2 separate regions of the Homo sapiens genome follow, and region 2 is linked to region 1. Evidence: promoter capture Hi-C in 16 types of primary human blood cells and fetal thymus (Javierre and others, 2016). All regions are on one chromosome and are shown on one strand. Each heading gives the region's core, a stretch centred on a gene start or on the middle of the fragment in contact. The rest is flanking DNA. Distances are from core to core; before and after follow the strand shown. Region 1 holds the start of GPER1 (G protein-coupled estrogen receptor 1). Region 2 holds the start of CHLSN (cholesin).

The links. Contacts are between HindIII fragments. The CHiCAGO score rates a contact against its expected background, and 5 or more counts as called.
Region 2: the fragment with the promoter of CHLSN here is called in contact with the fragment with the promoter of GPER1 in region 1 in 1 of 17 cell types (M2 macrophages); the score reaches 7.8 in M2 macrophages.

Annotation. Positions count from the first base shown.
Region 1 is chr7:1,085,895-1,089,743 of GRCh38, reverse strand. It overlaps GPER1 (G protein-coupled estrogen receptor 1), which reads right to left and starts at 1,631. Exons shown (of 2, transcript NM_001098201.3): 1 at 1,423-1,631. All of the region lies in intron 2 of CHLSN (cholesin), which reads left to right. The HindIII fragment of the contact is 14,676 bases long and covers 1-3,849 here.
Region 2 is chr7:1,135,754-1,139,633 of GRCh38, reverse strand. CHLSN (cholesin) reads left to right here and starts at 1,387. Exons shown (of 5, transcript NM_001318252.2): 1 at 1,387-2,319. RefSeq lists silencers at 978-1,117, 1,318-1,767, 1,778-1,827 and an enhancer at 1,158-1,257. The HindIII fragment of the contact is 2,681 bases long and covers 114-2,794 here.

The DNA of each region.
Region 1 (3,849 bases), core at 382-2,881:
TTGAAAATACTTACTTAAAAAAAAAAAAAAAAAAAAGGCTGGCCTATAATCCCAGCACTTCAGGAAGATGAGGTGGGAGGATTGCTCAAGTTCAGGAGTTCGAGACCAGCCTGGGTAACATGGCGAAACCCTGTCTCTACTAAAAAAAGACAAAAAAAGTAGCTGGGCATAGTGGTGTGCGCCTGTAGTCCCAGCTACTCGGGAGGCTGAGGCAGGAGGATCGCCTGAGCCTGGCAGGTAGAGGTTGCAGTGAGCCAAGATCACACCACTGCACTCGAGCCTCAGCCGAGATCACACCACTGCACTCGAGCCTCAGCCGAGATCACACCACTGCACTCGAGCCTGAGCTACTGCAGTGAGGCCCCATCTCAAAAACAGGCGGGTGGGGAAGACAAGATGAATCACTGCCTCTGTGTCAGTTATTCTAAAAGTACTGAATAACCTTCACTTAGCTGGGGCTGGTGAATTTGATTTTGGTTATTTTGCACTCTTGATTCATCTTTAGTAGATAATACCATTGAACAGCATAAATGCCTCTGCTCTCAGGCTCTGTCGGGAAGGTTGAAAGACTCCGCATTTCGCCTCTGTATTTAATTTCTTAAAAACGGCACAGAGGACTTGTTTTGCTCTTTAAATGTAGAAATTTTGGAACGTATTAGACCGTGGCGTGGCAGGAAGTTTAAAGGTGGGCAGAACCCTCAACTTAACGTTTATTTTCTTTCCTAATTTTGTTAAATGAACTCCAAGGGAAAAATAGTTTAAAAACGAGTCATTCATTTCTTTCCCATGTAAATTGAGTCTTTTGATCGTTGCCAGACACCGAGAAGATACGGGACCTGGTGTCTGATGTGTCCTAGTGTCTGATGTGGTCCTGGGTGAGAGGAACCTAGTGTGCCATTCACCACTGGCCCCACGTCCTCACTGGAGGTGGCCATGGAGTTATAAACAGTGCAATACCTCATTTCAGATTTCCTCTGCTTGTCATAGAGAAATAAAGCCACACTTTAGTCAGCTGTATTAAGTCTGCATCTGTCAAAAGGCGTGTGGCCCTCCCAGGGCTTCAGGGTTGGTGAGAGTGACTGGGGCACCGCAGGGCAGGGCAGAGTGGGCACCCTCATTTTCTTGAAGTGAGACACGTTCTTGCTGGGACAGAACGTGACGGAATACTGGGTCCTGCTTTCAGCACGAGTTAGAAAGGCCGTCCAGGCAAAGCCCCTGCTGCGGTCACGCTGAGACCACCGGAGCTCCGGGGGAGAGGGGTCTGTGCCTTGAGTTTGGGAAGCTGGGTGCTGCTCTCACCAGGGGGTGAGGTGTCTGGTCTGTGTTCAGCTGTTCCCATAACAGGACAGCGGCCTGGGTGGCACCACCCACCCGCTCCCCTAGTCAGTGGTATGGCACCGCCAGGCCGAGGCTGAGTCCTACCTGGGTTGCAGCCCCTTCTGTGCTCCTGGAAGCCTCCTTGGTCAGGCCCATCAGGCTGGAGGTGCACTTGGAACCCGCTGCAGGAGGTGTACCTCTGCTGGACCTGCCGAATGCCTGAGCAGGGCTAGAGAGAGGAAGAGACCCGCCCTGGGAGCCCGCGAGGGAAGGTTCCCGGCTGGCTGGCGGGTGCGTCCTCCCTCTGAGCCAGTGAGTCTGCCCCTTGGCACAGGGCTTTATAGGCCCCCTCCGCCCCGCTCCTCTCTGGCTCCTCTCTGGCCAGGCTCTGGGCGGCCTCCTCAGAAGGCTAGTGTTAACCATTTTTTTGCTGGCCCTTTTTCTCCCACACTTTGGCAATCAGCTCAGTTCTACTAGACTTGTTTTTGTGGAAGTTTCTGGTTTAACTGCTTTTCTTCACCCACAGATACAAACCTTTCTTTAAGTTTGAAGGCATCATACTAGGTGTTGTGTATCTTTTAGGCAATAACCTGTCCTCCTGGGTTGAAGCAAGCAATATTCTTGTTTTTGCAACTGACCTGCGTTAAACACTAAATTTCATAATTAACTTAGTAGCATGTGCATGATCCATAAAGAATTTAACAGGAATTTCACAGACATTTGCAGAGAGAAGTGTAATCCCAAGAAATAGGCATTTCTGACAAGTAACTTAGGAATCTGAGTACTGGTTAAGCATCTGGAAATCTGAAATCCAGAGTGCCCCACAGTCCGACACTGTTGGAGCGTCGTGACACAAGTGGAAAATTCCACACCTGACCTCGTGTGGCGGGCTGCAGTCCAGGCAGTTCAAAGTTTGTTTTATGCATGAAATTGTTAAAAGTGTTTTTATAAAGTTGCCTTCAGGCAGTGTGTATAAGGTGTGTATGAAACACAAATGAATTTCGTATTTAGCTTTCTCATTCTGTACCTGCAGATATTCCAAAATCTGCAAAAATCTGAACTCCGAAACTCTTCCGGTCCCAAGCATTCAGACCAGGGACCCTCAGCCGGTAGTTTTCTCTGAGTGTTAGCGGTGCCTCAGGTCCCTCCTCCCGCGCTCGCTGCAGAAGCGTCGGAACTTACCTGCCGTCCAGATGTTGGTGGCCTCTTCCCCACCAGGGCCGCCTCTCCTGCTCATGGTTGCGGATTTCACAGTCTCGTGCAGGCGGAGAATAAACCTCCCTCCCCGGACTCTCGGGGCCGCTGAACTGCCTCATGCGGGGCGGCCACTTCCGAGTGCGCCCCCTACTGGCCATTTGAATTTTCACTCGCCGCTTCGGGAACCGATGGCCGCCCCATGAGGGCAGAGCGAGGCCCCCCAAGCCCGCGTGGGCTGTCCAGGCCGAAGGGGTCCTCAGGCACCGCCAGCCCCGGCTCTCCAGGCGGAGGGGTGGGTCTTCCTCAGAAGGGAACTTCAGCGAATCTCACTCCTACTTCTAGGTGTCGTTTTCCCTCTGTAATGTTTTGAAGTGGTGAGATTGAATGCTGAGTGATCCTTTGTCCGCTGAGTATGAGTAATGCGGCTGCTGCAGCCTGAGGCGTGGTTCAGAGACCTGCGTGGGCTCCCCCCTTCCCCCTCCCCCCCAGGAGAGCTGGTGCAGGCAGAGGACTGGGGTGCTGGGCCTCCAGGTGCACTCGGCCCCTCGGGACCTGCTCCCCGCCAGGAGAGCTGGTGCAGGTGCAAGAGTGGGGTGCTGGGCCTCCAGGGGCACTCGGCCCCTCGGGACCTGCTGGGGCTCAAGGCATCTGTGCAATAGCAATTTAAAGTCTTTCAGATGTGTATTTTAGGAAATATACACACATTTCCTAAACAGAATGCTGTGTTAATTTTTTAATGGAAAAATACTAACGTGGAGTTTTCTTCCAGCAGTAGAAAGTTGACAACTCTAATATGTACCTTTTTGTATTTGGATGATAAAGAGCTGATTTGCTCTTAGACATTTTTTGACCAGCTGTGAAGTTGAGATGATTTCAGCATTAAAAATGCCTGAGACACAATTTTGAAAGATGTGAGTCATGAGAAAGTACAGAAAAAAATAAGTAAAATAAAAATTCAAACCTTGAAATAGCTGAGACATGTCACTTAAAAATAGCTGCACCCTGCTAGTGCAAACCCATGGCTTCTGGTCTCTCTGCCCATCCCAGCGGCTGAGGAAGAGCTCAGCTCCCAAGCTCTCCACTCACGTGCCCTGGGTTTCCTGGGGAGCCTGCCCTGGGCGGGCGAGTGGCCGATACTCCTAGATTTCCTGCTTGCAGCATAGAGTCAGCGGATCGGGGCATCTGGGTCTTGGAGCGCAGCCTTCTCCTGTGGGCACTGGGCGGGTAAGTAACTTGTACTGTACAGCTACTGATGTAAGAGACAGGGCCCGGACTGCAGGAACTTCCGTCTCCAAGACCTACTTAATACTTGATGTGTGACGGCATGGCAGGAAT
Region 2 (3,880 bases), core at 138-2,637, 50 kb before region 1:
GGCCTTTGGGCAGCAGCCAGCAAGGCTGAGGCCCTTCTCTAATGACCTTGGAGGACTGAGTCCTTACAATATCCGTGTGTGTGAGCTTGGGAGTGGATCATTCCAGATAAGCTTTCCGATGAAACCACAACCCTGGGGGGACACCTTGACCACAACTTGGTGAACCCTTGAGGCAAAGGCACAGAGCTTAGCCACGCCCACTTTCCTGACCGCGGATACCATGAAAAAATAAATGTTCTTTTAGGCTGCTAAATGTTGGGTTAATTTGTTATGCAGAAAAAGGAACCAAATACAATCTTCTACCAGTAAGGAAGAGTGCACCTTCTTTGCTTGTCACCTTTGGATTCCTGAGGCAACGTACATCATACTTGATACGGCTGCCAAGCACTTAACTTACTGGGTGACTTGAAAGCATGCTTTTTTTTCTTTTTTTTTTTTAGACGGGGTCTGGCTCTGTTGCCCAGGCTGGAGTGCAGTGCCTTGATCATAGCTCACTGCAGCCTCCATCTCCCAGGCTCCAGCGATCCTCCCACCTCAGCGTCCAGAGTATCAGGAACTACAGGCACGTGCCACCATACCCGGCTAATTTTTATTTTTTTAATTTATTTTTTATTTTTTAAAACAGAGTCTCATTCTGTCGCCCAGGCTGGAGTGCAGTGGCACGATCTCGGCTCACTGCAACCTCCACCTCCCGGGCTTAAACGATTTTCCTGCCTCAGCCTCCCGAGTAGCTGGGATTACAGGCACCTGCCACCACGCCTGGCTAATTTTTGTATTTTTAGCAGAGACGGGGTTACGGGGTTTCGTCATGTTGGCCAGGCGGGTCTCGAACTCCTGAGCTCAAGCGATCCGCCCGCCTGGGCCTCCCAAAATGCTGGGATCACAGGCGTGAGTCACCGCTCCCGGACACAAGCATTATTATAACACTACCCACCCTGTGTATTTTTTAGCACCTATCCTGATTTTTTAAATTCAGCACGAAGTTTAAGTCCTAGCCCTGTTGATCCCAATAGCCGTAGCTCATCCATTTCGACTCCGAGCCGAGCTCCATACCCTGGACCCTCGGCGGAGGCCCCACCCCGGGACGCCAGCCCGGCCGGGGCAGCTTGCACCCCAGACCCCCAAGCCCTGCGGGGCCCAAACCTAGTCATCTGCACTTGTTCTGGGCAGGGCGGGTTGCCTTGGCAACCAGCTCCTCTCCAAGCAACTCTAGGCCTCTAGAGATGGCGTCAGTAGCCCGCGCCCGGTCCTGGAACCGCCCCCCGTGCTGCCGCCGCTTGCCATTAGCCGGCGGAGAGACGGACGCAGACCTCGTCCAATGGGAGGCTCCGCACTCCTGAAGGCGGGACTAACGCTTACCTGGGGCGCGGGTCCCTGCCGGAAGGCGGCGTCCGCGACGCAGCTGTTCACGCTTAGGTGGGCGACGTGGGCGCAGGTGGGCGCAGGTAGGCGCGTGGGGCGGCGGCGGGGTGGCCGGCGGGTCAGGGCGCCAGGAGACCCAGAGCCCCGGGGCGGGCTCCCGCGGGGCTCCGCCCCCTCCACGTGGGTGCGCGGAGGCCCGGCGCGGCGCGACCGGGCGGCGGCCCTGGGGTCCGCGGTGCTGGGGAGGCTGGTGCGGCCGGTGCGGCCGGTGCGTCCCGGCGCGGGCTCCGACACCCGCACCCGCCTCTGGGTTAACTCAGCGCGGGCGAGTGGAAGGGACTCAGCTGGCTCCTAGGTTTCAGGCCGTCAGGGCTTGCAGTGGCTCTGGTTTCATTGTCTTTCTCTGAAGACGCCCTGATTGCCCTCCGAGGCTTTCAGCTCCCACTTTCTCTTTTTCAATTTTTGAGGCAGTGTCTCGCTGTGCCACCCAGGCTGGAGTGCAATGGCGTGATCATAGCTCACTGCAGCCTCCACCTCCTGGGCTCAAGCCGTCCTCCCGCCTCATCCTCCCAAGTAGCTGGGACCACATGCGCGCGCCACCACACCCGGATAATTTTTAAAAATGTTTTTTGTAGAAATGGGGTCTCACCATGTTACCCAGGCTGGTCTCGAATTCTTGGGCTCAAGCGATGGATCCTCCTGCCTCGGCCTCCCAAAGTGCTGGGATTACAGGAGTGAGCCAACGCGCTTGGCCTCACTTTCCATCATAAGCATGCTTTCCGTTTCCTTCCTTCCGTCATTCATTCATTCATTTTTAAAAAACGTTCATTGGGTTCCTCCTGCACTGTTCGGGGCATTGGGCTACAGCTGTCAACAAGTGGAGACAAGTCTGTGATCTAGTGAACTTCCATTCTGGAGGGGAGAGACAGATGAACAAGGTGCACAGAGCAGGTGATGGTAAGTGCCATGGAGAAGATGAGAACAGGGGTTTTGAGAATGGAAAGGAAGCAGGAGGAGGAGTGAGGCACCAGAACATTCCAGGTCGAGGAAACAGCAGGTGCAGGGGAAACAGCAGGGAGCCCAGTGTGGCTGCAGCCAATTTGGGAACAGAGAGAGAAAGAGGAGGTGAGTTCCCAGAGATGCGAGGAGGGGCCAGGGCAGTCGTGTGGACCTTACCAAGTGGCAAGGACCTTGACTTTCCCTCCAAGTGGAAGGGGACAGCTTGGGAAGTTTTTTGAGTGGAGGTGACACACCATCTGATTTAGGAGTTTAAAAGCCATCGTGAGAGGTGGTGGCTTGGACTGGGTACCTATGGGATCTTAAGGGAGTCACATTCTGGGTGTATTTCAGTGGTAAACCAACAGGAGTTTGTGGTGGGTTGGACGAGTATGTGAGAAAGAGAGGATTTATGGATGGACCAAGGTTTTAAGCTTGAGCTACTATGTGAACCTCATCAGATGGATGTTTATGGAGAGGATGAACACTAGGAAGCTCAGGTTTGTGGAGGGTGATCAGGGGTATTGATTACGAATTCTTAAGCTTGAGATGATATATGTGTAGATGATATATATAAGTACATATATATGGTTATATATATAGTTATATATATACACAGTTTATACACACATCCGCATATATATATTTATTTTTATATATTTATATATATTTATATATGTTTATATATGTTTATATATGTTTATGTTTATATGTTTATATATGTTTATATATGTTCATATATATGTTTATATATATTTATATATGTTTATATATATTTATATGTTTATATATGTTTATATATTTATATATGTTTATATATGTTTATATATATTTATATATATGTTTATATATATTTATATATATGTTTATATATATTTATATATATGTTTATATATTTATATATATTTATATATATGTTTATATATATTTATATGTTTATATATTTATATATTTATGTTTATATATATTTATATATGTTTATATATATTTATATATATTTTATATATTTATATATGTTTATATATATTTATATATATTTTATATATTTATATATGTTTATATATATTTATATATTTGTGTATATATTTATAATTATGTATATTTATACATATTTATGTATATATATTTATATATTTATGTATATATTTATATATATTTATGTATATATATTTATATACACATTTATATAAATTTATATATACTTATATTTATATATATTTATATATACTTATATATTTATACATATATTTATATATACATATATATTTTATATATATATTTATATATGCTTATATATTTATATATACTTATATATATTTATATATATTTATATATACTTATATATTTATATATACTTATATATATTTTTATATATACTTATATATTTATATATTCATATATATTTTTATATATTTATATAAATACATATTTATGTAAATATATTTATATATTTATTTTATATAAATAAATAAATAAATTGTGTATATATATATATATATATATTTCTTTTTGAGGTGGAGTC